2 separate regions of the Homo sapiens genome follow, and region 2 is linked to region 1. Evidence: promoter capture Hi-C in 16 types of primary human blood cells and fetal thymus (Javierre and others, 2016). All regions are on one chromosome and are shown on one strand. Each heading gives the region's core, a stretch centred on a gene start or on the middle of the fragment in contact. The rest is flanking DNA. Distances are from core to core; before and after follow the strand shown.

Region 1 (6,910 bases), core at 106-2,605:
CTCTAATACATGTATGTTCTCCCTAAGGCACGTCACAGCCTTCTCCCGCTTAGGAACACTAGATAGCACTTCAGCATTGCAAGGCCATTTTAAACAGCAAAATCACTAACAAAAAGCACGAAAATGCAAATTAAAAAAAAAAGATTCTAGACCATAAAAAGGACACCTTTTACAGTACGAGAGCTGAAACTAGGCAGAGCCTTGTCGACCTCAGCTCGGGACATGCACCTGGGGTGGCAGCTCCACCCACATCTCAGAGTGACCTTGAGAGTGCCCAGAGTGTTGATTTGGGGCTTACAAATAAATTTTAGTCAGTAGAAGAATCTGAAAATATGGAATTCATGAATAACGAGGGTTGTCTGTATATATTTACAGAGAAAAATTTGTGCTTTAGTGGAAAACTGCATTCCTTAGAGCACACTGTTCAGGGTTATCAGATTCTGCAACGGTTTCACTCCTTTCCTTGACTCTGAGCTATTTTACAGCTCTGTAAATTACAGATAACTGACAGGAATGCAAAATAATTCTTGTCTGTAGACATGCAAATAATTTCTGTTCAGTGGAGGATCAATTGAGTCCCTGCCTGCCATGGAAAAAGTCAGTTTTGCATCCATCTTCAAATTTGTTTCAACATCCTGATCTATATATATCTCTGCTTTTTTATGTCTCCCTTGAGTTGGTTTCATAGATTTCTGACCCTAGCATTATTTCCTGAGTTAAAGAAAACCTGTGACACGTGTTCATTTTGTTTACATGACAGTCGGATTGAGTGCTCCTTTTGGAGGCCTGGGGTCCGCTCACCTGTGTGCAGCGACAGCCAGCCTTTACGGTGGGCGATGTAGTGCGGCGCGTGTGCCTCCTCGTAGGTCACCGGCTTGTCCCCCTTGCTTACGCGTACTCGGGCCGCCCGGTTCTAGGAGCAAAAGGGGCCGTGACTCCACGAGATCCCCGATCCAGACCCCTACTTCGCGCCATGTCCCCCCAGTCAGCTGGCACTGTTCCCCGGCCCCAATCCCCTGATCCCTAAGCCCCGACCCTAGCCCCGCCTCGGACCCCAGCGACACGCCCCCTTCAGCCCGCACGGCTTCCCCGGCCCCCGGCCCCCCGGCCCCCAGGCCCCCAGGCCCCTGCCCCGGCGGTGCTCACCTTGGCGCAGACCGGGGAGGTGTGCAGGGCGCGCCAAGCGCAAGGCAGCTCTCGGCTCCAGGACAGCACCTGTGGAGGGAGGGCGCGTGAGGCGGAAACTAGGGACCCCACCTCCGACTCGCAGGGACCTGCCGAGTCGCCCCACTCACCCGTGGCCCCAGCAACCCGCTGCACACGGAGGCCGCCATCTTGGGCCAAGCGGAGCGCGGGACGTACCACAGCGCGCTGAGGGGTGGGGACGACCGCGGACGAGACCAAGTCGGAGCTCGTACTCTGTACTCTGGCGGGGGCGGGGCAGGGCCTCTGCGGGGCGGGGCCGCGGTATGCTGCTAGCTGTTACTCCCGCCTTCCCCGCAGCCCTGTGAATGCTCAGCCTTGTGAATGCTCATCCCGCCGCTGTTCGCTCTCCCGCGGTTGCTGCTTGCATAGGGTTTCAGATCCGGAAATTTGAGGATGCGAAACGTGAGATTTTCTCTTCGACAACCTCACGCTAGTACGGGTGATGGGTGTGCGGCCCACCGGAGCCCGCCCTGCCCAACCTGCACCCTCGGGGCTCGAAGAGGAGCCAAGCGTTTCCCCAGGTCCTAGTTATGCCTCCAAATAATATTCGTAGAAAAACAAAACAGAAAAACCCTCCAGACTTTTATCCACAAATAAAGAAGAAACATATTTTGGTTAAAACGTCACCCAATTCTTCAAGGATGACTTACGCAGTTATGCAAGAATGGGTTTGCCACATGTGACCACAGTGGTGACTGGCCCCTGAGGAAGGAAAATTTTAAGTACGGGGAAGGGGCCGGAGGGCAAGGAGATTCGTGAGAATATCGCAGGGCCTGTAATGCTGAAACCAGTGCGTCGCCACTATTATTGGTATCCAGTAATTATTAATGTCAAACGGAAAAATAGCAACGCGGGATATTTTATTTTAGAAGTCACCACGGTCATGGAAAAAACACGGGCTCTGGAGTCAGACCCATGTATAACAATCTTTGTACAGTTAAGACTCAGTTCTATTATCTATAAAATGGGCCTTAATAATAGTACTACCTTATAGAGCTATTAGGATCAAGAGAATATTTAATCAATGATGGGTTGTGTTTGGTTGAGTGATGTGAAATTGCCAATGTTTTGGCCGTTCTGGGTCTACATCATTCCCCTTAATGGTACAGTACTTGCATACTGCTGCGGTTTCCTGTCAGGGGGAGGACTGGATTATGATCCATGGGAAGGGGAAATGGAAGAACGGTGGAAATGAGTTGCCCATGACCACACTGAGAAGAGGGAAAGAGGGACCAAGACACAAGTCTCTTGACTTCAGTCCAGCCCATTTCCCATGACCAAGATTCCTCTGATTACATGAAGGTGGGTTCTCAAAAAACCCGTAATAAAAGGACAAGGTCTTCCATGTCCACTTCACCAGAAATGTTTTATTCTTACTTTTTAGGAACTGCGGCCCCCAACTGTTATGCATATTGAATAAAGGGACAGAACAGGGATGAGGTGCCCTCCAATGCATACTTTGCAAATGTAAGAACTTTCAACATTTCCTAAGAAATCCTTTTCAACTGACAATTATTTTTTAAAGTTTTCATAATGTTCAATAATTTTATAATTGTTAAGTTTCATTAATTTGCTCCAAGGTGGTGAGGAACATGGGATGTGGCATCTGAATTGCCTGAGTCCAAATCGTGGACCCAATGCTTCCTGGCTGTGTAATTTGGACAAGTGACTGAACCTTCTGAGCCTCGGTTTCTCTCATCTGTAAACTGGGGACAATAATGGTGGTTGTGAGAAGTACAGTATGATGTGCCTGGCAGAGGGAGAGAGCAGTTGTGGGTTTTGTTGTTGTTTTTAACGAGTCCCTGATAGCCACATATCCCGTTAGGGAGATGAGCCAGCTATTGAGGGTTCTGTGAGAACTCATAGCAACACCACCCTAATCAGAGGAAAGGGGAAGGAGAAAGGGAAACAAGATCCTTGGGCTGATCAGAGGCAGAGGTGGCAATGGCACAACACCTATTGGGGCCCAAGGTGGGCAGGGGCCACACCACGAAGGCTGTGGTTGGGAATCAAGTTTAGCCCATAAAGCAGTAGGCAATCAAATGATCAAATTTATGCTTTCCTCTATTCAAGCCATTCTCCCTTATGCCTGAGATCTCTCTCTGGAATTCCAAACCGATCTAGATCTTTCCAAGCATCACAATGGCCATTTCAGTGGCAGACATTTCTGGGGTTCAAATATCTTGTTATCTATCCTTTATTAGCTTTGTTTATACTGTGATTGGGGGAAAGGGGACGTGTCGGTCTTTACATGATTAAAATTACTTAAAATGACTTTTATACATCAGTATGAATGTTATATTGTTTTAAATAATCAGCAGAAAAATCTGACTGGGGATGTTTTATTTTTCTGTAACTTCCATTTGTTGTTGTTTTGATGCACTTTCCTTCTCCTATTAATTCCATAAAGGAGGCAGTATTTCCAGGCTTCACAGAGCAGAAGATGGAGGCTCACAGACTCACCTGAGGTTACAGAAGTAGTAAATGGTAGCAGGCCTTTTTGCTCCAAAGCATGTGCTCTTTCAGTATCACTTCCTGGGGGTGAGGGTTCAGACCATGTTAGGATCAGGGAATGGCCTGGGTTTCTGTGGCTTGCTGCAGACAGCTCCCAAGTGGCCCTCAAGGACTGCCTGGACATGGAAAGGCCAGGAGCATATGACCCCATGTGAAAGACCCATCTGCACCCTTCCTGGAGCCTAATGCAGAGACAGGGATGTAAAACTGCTTTTTCTCTGACATGAGCCTTTGTTCTGTACATAATAACCAAGAACCAGAAGTTGCTCCTATGCTCTCAAAGCAGTGATTTGCAATTGCATGACAGAGCCCCCTGGGTTCCACACCACCTCTGTGGGGAGAGGGCAGGCACTCACACTTTTAAAATGCCCCTTAGATGATTTCAATTTGCAGTCGGGGCTGAGAACCAGTGTCCTGAACTCACTCAGTTTATTTGGGAGACTCCCAAAATGTGTATTTGCAGAGCCCCCTTTCGGGGAGAGTGCTGTTGGATGCCCCTGGAAGATTATGGCAGCTCTCTAAGGAACATAGCCATAGTCCACGCCCACCACTCTTGGTCACAAGGGCAGAAGAAGGGAGGAGGGGTCTGCTGGGAGGTCAGGACTTCTTTGAGATGATCTGTCCAGTTGGGTGCAGCACAGCCACCATGGGCTCACCCAGAGTGCTCAGGGGATACAGCACTGGCTGGGCCATGGAGAGACACTGTGTAAAAGGGAGCTGTCAGCCCCCTTGTACTTCCAGAGCCTGAAGAGTTTCAGAATCCAGCCTGGGGGCGGTGGGGTGACATCTCCCTTCCTGTTGGCTGCAGGGTGAGCCGATATCACTCCACTCATGGTGGTTCTCTTTACAGCTGACTTATCCTAACTCAGAACTGCTGACACTTTACACTTTGTAAACCTATGGTTTTTACATTATTCCTTGTGATTCTTTTTTTCCTAATAACTCGTTCACTAGGAAAAATCCCAGAGGCTCTCAGCTCTATTCTGAGAAATAGGTCAAACAACTGAAACCCTATGAGTAAAGCAGAGAGGCGTGTCAAACCAGATTGCCAAGACAGCTCAGCCGTTTTCCCTGTGAGCTCCTGCTCCATCCCCCCACCTCTGTTCTCCTTCTGGTGAGGCACAAGGGCTGGGTTTGGTGGGTGAGGTCCCCAGCTATAATTACTGACATCAGCTTTGCGGTCCCAAGGAATCCACTCCCCTGTTATCAGAGCTATGGGCAATTAGAAATGCCCAGTGCCACACCAGAACCCTGGGCTAAAAGTCAGAACCTGAAGAAGCCAAACTGGTGCTTAGGATAGAGGGGGTGCGGACTCAAGAAAGAGAAGACCGAGGGATGGGCTCATGAGCTCCAGCCCCTGAGACTGCCACTCCCTGGCTCCCAGAAACTGCTAGATCTAGATATAATGGGCTCAGATGAGGAGACAATGAAAATGTGCTAAGGACCAAGAAGGGCACAGAAAGGCCTCTGAACCCTTGGGTGGGCACAAATGGAGGTGCGACTGGCACCAGAGGCTGTTCTGAGAGATGTGCCCGCCAGTCAACCAGGGCCAGAGACAGGCAGAAGGGGCCCCCAGGCAGACAGCAGCATGGAAGAAACCATGGCCTCCAAAGTGTGTATGTGGCGGGGCGAGGGTGTGGTTGACGAAATGACAGGAGACCAGGACCAAGGTCATCTTGGCTCTTGTACAGCCCTGACTCATCAGTGCTCATAAAGCTGCACTCTGGTGAAATTTTGTTGGAGTCTTAGAAGAAATCAGGATAGGTTTATGGCCAAATTATTTTATTAGTGACTCAGAAAGAGGATTTTCCCTTTTACTGGGCTAATACACCACACCTGAGGAGTTGGGGTAGTTACCAGATCAGGTTTATATTGTATAAACTGCAGACCACCACCAGTTCTGCTAGGTGCTGTTTCAGTAAATTAAGATAGTATCGATGAGAAGATGCTGTTTTACATACCATTAAGAAGGAAAACTGGCTGCAAATTATCTTAAGGTACCATTGATTGATTAAAAGATGAATCCTGATCTGACATGTTAAAATGTTTGAGGCTGATGCAGAAGGCAGTTTCCTCTCCACAAACCTCATGGGTGTGCAGAATGGTGTAGACACAGAGATGGGTGCCTCACTTACCTCATGCACAGACTGGCTTTTCCACCACAGGGCAGGCACTGTATAAGCACCTTCCATTCCTACACAGGCGCTAGTAGGGGGAACTAAGGCTTGGAGAAGCCAAGTAACTTTGCTAAAGGGTCATATAATTAGTAGGAAGTAAGGCTGAGGTTCAAAACCAGGCCGGACATCCAATGTGCTGAAGCAAGCTACACCTCATCTCACAAGAGAGGCGAAGACACGCTTGTTCCTTGTCCCAAGCACTCTTCAGGCCCATTTCCTCCAAGATGGTACTTGCTTGGTTTGACACTTTCATCAAACAGGACCCCTTGTGAGCACACGGCCATGCTCTGGTGAGCAGCCTGCCGCCCTGTCCACCTTTCTGGGTGGCTCTCTCTCTACTAAGCTTGGCTCCAAGGACATGACCGTCCAGTAGCCCCATGGCAAATTCTGGGGCTTCTCAGACCTGAAGGTGAGCATTTTGAGCTCCAGATATGAAAGGCAAGTCCTGGGTGTTGTGTTCATTGGAATCCTAAGAGCAGCACTGACTGGAGGGCTAAAGGCAAGGCCCATCCACAGTTCACAGACTTGAAACATCAACCCTTCAAAAAGGGTGGGAGGAGGCTGGGTACGGTGGCTCACTCCTGTAATCCCAGCACTTTGGGAGGCTGAGGCAGGTGGATCACTTGAGGCCAGAAGTGTGAGACCAGCCTGGCCAACGTGGTGAAACCCTGTCTGTACTAAAAATACAAAAATTATTTGTATTTTTGTGATGGTGGGCGCCTGTAGTCCCAGCTACTTGGGAGGCTGAGAATCACTGGAACCCAGGAGGTGGAGGTTGCAGTGAGATCGCGCCACTGCATTCCAGCCCAGGCAACAGAGCAGGAAAATGAAAAAGGGAAAGGTTTTCCTAAACTTATTACTAAGAGACCAGGTTTGCAGAGAACCAGGCTCCTGGAACGCAGGAGGCAACAGTTTGGATGTCCCGGGAGCAGCAGGTGGAGCATCTGGGGAATCCAGAAATCCACAGCAGGCAGCCTGCCAGGCATCTCCAGAAGAGGGACCAGGAAGCCTTT
Region 2 (7,070 bases), core at 4,216-6,715, 290 kb before region 1:
CATTTCACTATAAAAAAATCTTTTATTTTCTTTGACCTCTTTCTAATATAGTGTTGGCACACCTCTTATTATATGTTCTTCATTTAGGGTATGATTTTTATCTATAATGCTTTTTGCTAATGTATTTCCAGCTTGTTTGCCTTCTAACTTTGCATATAACATTTTTTGATATGCAATGATTTTTGAATTATTAGGTAGTCAAATATTTTTCTTGGAGTTTTTTTCCACTGCTTTATTTCTTAGAAGTTACTTTTTCTTTCAGAAATCAGCTAATTGTCAAGGCCAGGCAAAGTGACTAATGCCTGTAATTCCAGCACTTTGGGAGGCCAAGGAGGATGGATCATTTGAGGCCAGGAGTTCAAGACCAACCTAGCCAACATGGCAAAAACCTGTCTCTACTAAAAATACAAAAATTAGCCAAGCATGGTGGCACATGCCTGTAATCCCAGCTACTCGGGAGGCCGAGGCAAGAGAATCGCTTCAATCCAGGAGGCAGAGGTTGCAGTGAGCCGAGCTGGCACCACTCCACTCCAGTCTGGGCAACAGTGAGACCCCGTGTCAAAAAAACAACAAAAAAAGAAAAAGTCAGCTAATTGTTATGTGTCATTTCTTTCTAGATTTTGTAGTTTTTGTTTGTTTGTTTTACATTTAATGATTTAGAAGATTTGGGGCTTATTGTGGTTTCTTAAATATTATAACTCTATTTCAAAACTATTCTGCTATGTTGAGCTATCTTATTTCATACTGTATTTTAATATGTTAGGACAGTTCTCTCCTTACGACTTTCTTTTGCAAAAATTTTCTAGCTACACTCATTTGGATATTCTTCATGATGAACTCTGAGATAATTTTAACACATTCCAAAAGACATATTTTTGAGACTTATTAGAATTTTGTTAAAGATACTGATTTATTTCCAAAGAATTACAGAATCTAATCTTTTCATCTATGTATCTCTATTGAAGCATTTGTTTATGTCTCTTAGAATAGATACATTCTTTAAAATAAAATATAAGCTTTGTGCATTTTTGTGAGGGTCGTTTCTGCATGCTTTATTTTCATTTTATTCAAATGGAATAGTTCCCCATTAGCTTTCATATCTCATTGTTATTATGTAGGAATGCTATTGATTTATTTTTATTAAACCTAATTGTCTTTTAAAATATATTAATTTTAATATTTTTCAGTTGATTCTTTTTTATTACATTTTACTTATTTATTTATTTTCTTTTATTTTAAAATTTTCTTTTTTGAGATGGGGTCTCATGCTGTCACCCAGGCTGGAGTGCAGTGGCACTATCCTGGCTCACTGCAACCTACACCTCCCGGGTTTAAGCGATTCTTATGCCTCAGCCTCCCGAGTAGCTGGAATTACAGATGCCCGCCACCATGCCCGGCTAATTTTTGTATTTTTAGTAGAGACGGGGTTTCACCATGTTGATCAGGCTGGTCTTGAACTCCTGACCTCAAGCAATCCACCCACCTCGGCCTCCCTCCCAAAGTGGTGGGATTACAGGCATGAGCCATCACACCCAGCCCTTTTTTATTACATTTTAAAATAGCATTAATAGAAACAAGGTTTCACTATGTTGCCCAGGCTGGTTTCAAACTCCTAAGCTCAAGCGATCTTCCCACCTCGGTCTCCCAAAGTGTTAGGATTACAGGCATGAGCCCGGTCCAGTTTATTCTTTTGGATATTCTAGAAGTAGAATATAGAATTCTCTACATTTAACAATTGTGACTATTCCTTCATGACCATTTAAATTCTTCCTTTCCAATATTAATGCCAGAGTGTCTTACTGCACTATTTAGGTTCTCAACTGCAACACTGAATAAGAGTCGTGATAGCACGTAACTTTGCTGTGCCTCTGACTTCAACGATAATACTTCTGTAGGTTTTTTAGAGATGTATCTTCTTAAGTTTAGGAAATTCCCTTCTATTTTAATCAGTCATGAGTGGGTATTGAATATTATGCAATGTTTTTTCCCAGCATTTTCTGTCAACATAGATGAGAAGTAAATTGGCCAATTTCCACTTATTTGTGATTGTGGCTTTTGGTTGTGGTTGTTTTATATCAAAATAATAGATGACATTTGGTTTCTTCCTTAATTCCACTATGATGATAGGGCATACTCTATAGAATTTCAGTCCTTTAAAATTGTTGAAAAGTGCTTTACGACCCACTACATAATCAATAAATATTCTTTTTGCAGCAAAATAATATATATTCTGTAGTGTTGTATGTGTATCATGTCAATTTTGTTCATTGTGTTGTTCAATGCTTCTATGTCCTTTCTATTTTTTTCCCTGCTTGTTCTATCAGTTACAGAGAGGAATGTGTTAAAAATCTCAGGTTGTGATGGTAGATTTGTGTATTTCTCCTTTTAGTTCTGTCATTTTGCTTCGTATATTTCAATACTATCTTTTAAAGATAGCATTGAATTGATTCTTTTTTCACTAATGCATTTTATCTCTTATAATACTTCTTGCCTTAACATCTACTTTGTCTAATATTTTTATAGGTACAACCAATTTTCTATTAGGCACAATAGGCATACATAACCCAGAGATATTGCAGATTCAGTTCCAGACTACTGCAGTAATAATATCATAATAAAGCAAGTCACACAAATTTTTTGGTTTCCCAGTGCATATATAAGTTATGTCTACACTATTCTATGGTCTATTAAGTGAGCAATAGCATTATGTCTAGAAAAACAATGTACATACATTGTACATTTTAAATGAATGTATATGCGAAACAACATACATTAATTTTAAAATACTATATTGCTAAAAAGTGCTATTGATCATCTCAGCCTTCAGTAAGTTGTAATTTTTTTGCTGGTGAGGGGTCTTGCCTCCATGCTGATGGCAACTGACTGATCAAGGTGGTGGTAGCTGAAGGTTAGGGTGGCTGTAGCAATTTCTTAATATAAGACAAAGATGATGTTTGCCACATTGATTGACCCTTTCTTTCACAAAAGATTCCTCTGTAGCATGCAATGCTGTTTGATAGCATTTTACCCACACAGTAGTGATGCAGGATTTTTTTGCTCCTTATCTAGGCTCCTTAGCCAGGCTCCTCCCCTGCATAAGACACGAATTCCTGGTGGCTCCACCCCATTCCCCCAGTGCTTGTGGGCCTCCAGTTCACTGCGGGCATGCTCAGGCAAGTCCCCTGTGCAGGTTCCCTTATCTGCACAAAACATCTGATGTAAACACTTGTGGGGCGAGTTGGAGATTCTCCGGGGACCCTTCCCTATCTGCCTAGGCCTTTGTCTGCCTCTTGCCTCTATCAGTAGGACTTCCTTCAAAATTGGAATCAAAATTGCCACCATTTTATCAACTAAGTTTATGTAATATTCTAAATCGTTTGTTGTCATTTCAACAGTGTTTACGGCATCTTCAACAGGAGTAGATTCCATCTCAGGAAACCACTTTCTTTGCTCATCTATAACAAGCATCTTCCACTGATGTCTTGAGCCCCTCAAAGTCATCCATGAGGATTGGAATCAACTTCCTCAAATTCCTGTTAATGTTGATATTTTTAACTCCTCCCATGAACCATGAATTCTCTTAATGACATCTAAAATGGTCAGAAGATTTTCAATTGACTTTGCCCAGATCCATCAGAAGATTCACTATCTATGGCAGCTACAGCCTTACAAAATATATTTCTGAAGTAACAAGACTTGGAAGTCAAAATTACTCCTTGTTCCATGGACAGCAGAATGGATGTTGTGTTAGCAGGCATGAAAACAATATTCATCTCCTTGCACATTTCCATCAGAGCTCTTGGGTTGTTGGTACATTGTCAATGAGCAGTAATATTTTGAAAGGAATCTATTTTTTTTTTCTGAGCACTAGGTCTCCAGACTGGGCTTAAAATGTTCAGTAGACTATGTTGTAAATACATGTGCTGTCATCCAGCCTTTGTTTTTCGATTTCTAGAGCATAGGCAGAGTAGATTTGGCATAATTCTTAAAGGCCCTAGAATTTTTAGAGTGGTCAAAGAGCATCGGCTTCACCTTAGAGTCATGAGCTGCATTAGCCCCTAACAAGGGAGTCAGCCTGTCCTTTGAAGCTTTGAAGCCAAGCCTGGACTTTTACTCTCTAACTCTGAGTCTTAGATGACATCTTCTTCCAATAGAAAGTCATTTAATCTACACTGAAAACCTGTTGTTTCATATAGCTCTCTTCATCAATTACTTGAGCTAGATCTTCTAAATAAATTCCTGCAGCTTCTACATCAGCACTTACTACTTCACCTTGAACTTTTATGTTATGCAGATAGTCTCTTTCCTTAAATCTCATGAATCAACCTCTGCTAACTTCAAACTTTTCTTTGGCAGCTGCCTAACCTCTCTCAGCCTTCAGAGAATTGAAGAGAGGTAAAGCCTTGCTCTGGATTAGGCTTTGGCTTAAGGGAATCTTGTGGCTGGTTTGATCTTCTATCCAGACCACTCAAACTTTCTCCATATCAGCAAGAAGGCTGTTTCACTATTTTTATCATTCCTATGTTCACTGGGGTAGTATTTTTAATATGTTCACTGGGGTAGTATTTTTAATTCCCTTCCAGAACTTTTCCTTTGTATTCACAATTTGGCTAACTGGCTCAAGAGGCCTAGCTTTCAGCCCATCTTGGCTTTCTACATGCCTTCCTCACTAAGCTTAACCATTTTGAGCTTTTATTTCAAGTAAAAGACATGGGAATCTTCCTTTCACTTGAACACTTAGAGGCTGTTTTAGGGTTTTTAATTGGTCTATTTCAATATTGTTGTGTTTCAGAGAATAGGGAGGCCTGAGGAGAGGAAGAGAAATGGGGGGCTGATTGGTGGAGCAGTTAGATCACACACATTTATCAATTAACTTTGCATGAGTGCAATTCATGGTACCCAAAAGCAATTACAATAATAACATCAAAGATCAAAGATCACGGTCCACCATAACAGATATAATAGTAATAATAAAGTTTGAAACATAGTGAGAATTACCAAAATGTGACAGAAAGAAATGAAGACAGCACATACTGTTGGAAAAATGGCACTGGTAGACTTGCTTGATGCAAGGTTGCCACAAACCTTCAGTTCGTAAAAAATGTAATATCTGCAAAGTGCAATAAAGCAAATTGCAATAAAATGAGATATGCCTGTATTTACATGGCATAATTCTTTCCATCCTTTCAATCTTTCTGTAGCCTTTTATTTGAGGTGTCTCTTACAAGCAACATATAATTGATATTATTTTTAATTCTGTCCATAGCATTTGCCTTTTAACTGGAGTATAGATTCCATTTATATTTAATGTACTTGCCAAAAAACCCTCCTGTTTTAAAAAATTTACCTTTTTTTTTTTTTTTGAGACAGAGTTTCACTCTGCTGCCCAGGCTGGAGTGCAGTGGTACAATCTCGGCTCACTGCAGCCTCCGCCTCCTGGGTTCAAGTGATTCTCCTGCCTCAGCCTCCCGAGTAGCTGGGACTACAGGTGCCCACCACCACGCCTAGCTCGTTTTTTGTGTTTTATTTTAATAGAGATGGGGGTTTCACTATGTTGACCAGGCTGGTCTCGAACTCCTGACCTCAGGTGATCTACCCTCCTTGGCTTCCCAAAGTGATCATCTATTTGTTTCTACTTGTCTGTGTTCCTTTTTTCCCTTTCTTGCTTCTTTTATTTTTTATTTTTTCATTTCCCCTCTTTTTTACATGTTATTCATTCTTTTTCTATTACTTTTGCTGTTATTCTAGAGATTATAATATTCATTATTGATGTATTAAAGCCAAGTACTTTTATCAATTCCTATACAATCCTAGGACTTTAGAACACTTTACTTTCATTTACTCTATCTCACTTTTTGTGCTGCTATTGTGTATATTTTAATTCTACATATATTTAAACTTCACATGACGTTATTTTTATTGTTTTATATAAATTGTGTTTATTTATATCTATCCATATATATATATGTATTTATATCTATCCATATATAAAAGGATTGATTGCTCTTCATTCCTTTAGATGTCTCCATGATTTCATTTGGGATTATATTCCATCTGCCTGAAAAACTCCTTTTGGAATTTCCTTTAATGTAAATCAGCTGATGATCTTAGTGTTTCTTGGTTATAAAACTGGCTGTATTTTATTTTCAATTTTGAAGATCATTTTTACTGGGTATATAATATAGGTTGATAGGTAATTTCTCCTAGCGCTTTGAAAACATTTGAAGGTGTTTAGGCTTCCATTGGTTCTTTGAGAATAAGCTTTTAATTTTATTGTTGCTCATTTGCAGATTATATCTCTGTTTTCTTTGCTGATTTTAAACCTTTTCTTTTTGATTTTGTTTCTCAGTAGTTTACAATGTGCCTAGACATGGTTTTCTTTGCTTGAAATCCTGCTCTATGTTCATAATGTTTCTTGACTCTGAGAATTGTTGTTCATTAGTTTTAAAAAATTTCCAGCCGTTATCTTTTCAAATACTGCTTCTTTTCCTTTTTTCTCTCACCTCTCTTCCTGATATTCCAATTACGTGTGTGTTAGAATGTTTTACCACATATCACATGTGTCATAGTCTCCTTTCTGAGACCTTATCTCTTTTATAGAAAGTTCTTTCATATCTCTTGTATGTCATTTTTCATATTTTGTTTTGCTTATTAGCTTCACTAATTCTTGCTTAAGTTGTATCTCATCTGTTATTAAGCCCATAATTCTGTAGTAGTTTTAGTTAGTGTGTTTTTTTCTCCAATTCCAAAATTCCATTGTATTCTTCTTTGGAGTTTCCAGTTCTCTGCTGAAAACTCTTTATCTTGCAATTTAATTTCTTGAAGATATTTAACAGAATTATTTTAAAATCTGTCTTTAAACTTTAATATCTGGATCTTCTGTGTGTTTATTTCTGTTTTCTTTTTCCCTTAGTTTTTAAGACAATTCTGTGTCCTTTGTTTAAATTAAGTTTCAGACATGGTGTATAAAATATTATATGGGTAATGTGTTGCTCTGAATGATGCTTTTTTTCCCCAGAGAGAATATTTACTGTTGCCATTTGAAGCTGGTTTTCAGCCCTTGGGTCTAT

Evidence for each region. The method cuts DNA at HindIII sites, captures the fragments that hold promoters and counts their contacts. A CHiCAGO score of 5 or more calls a contact.
Region 2: a fragment that was not itself captured here is called in contact with the fragment with the promoter of MRPS24 in region 1 in 2 of 17 cell types (monocytes and total CD8 T cells); the score reaches 7.8 in monocytes.

What each region holds. Positions count from the first base shown.
Region 1 is chr7:43,868,162-43,875,071 of GRCh38, forward strand. MRPS24 (mitochondrial ribosomal protein S24) reads right to left here and starts at 1,356. Exons shown (of 4, transcript NM_032014.3): 1 at 1,296-1,356; 2 at 1,147-1,215; 3 at 802-913. The coding sequence starts at 1,334. URGCP-MRPS24 (URGCP-MRPS24 readthrough) reads right to left here. Exons shown (of 7, transcript NM_001204871.2): 5 at 1,147-1,215; 6 at 802-913. The coding sequence ends at 825. LOC124901620 (a long non-coding RNA gene) reads left to right here and starts at 1,485. Exons shown (of 2, transcript XR_007060296.1): 1 at 1,485-2,673; 2 at 2,787-3,481. RefSeq lists silencers at 1,068-1,127, 1,428-1,487, 3,755-3,930 and an enhancer at 1,718-1,837. The HindIII fragment of the contact is 8,402 bases long and covers 1-6,238 here.
Region 2 is chr7:43,574,484-43,581,553 of GRCh38, forward strand. No RefSeq gene overlaps it. Among named protein-coding and RNA genes, the nearest start is that of STK17A, 5.1 kb to the right of the region's middle. RefSeq lists enhancers at 2,646-3,845, 2,977-3,478. The HindIII fragment of the contact is 1,587 bases long and covers 4,673-6,259 here.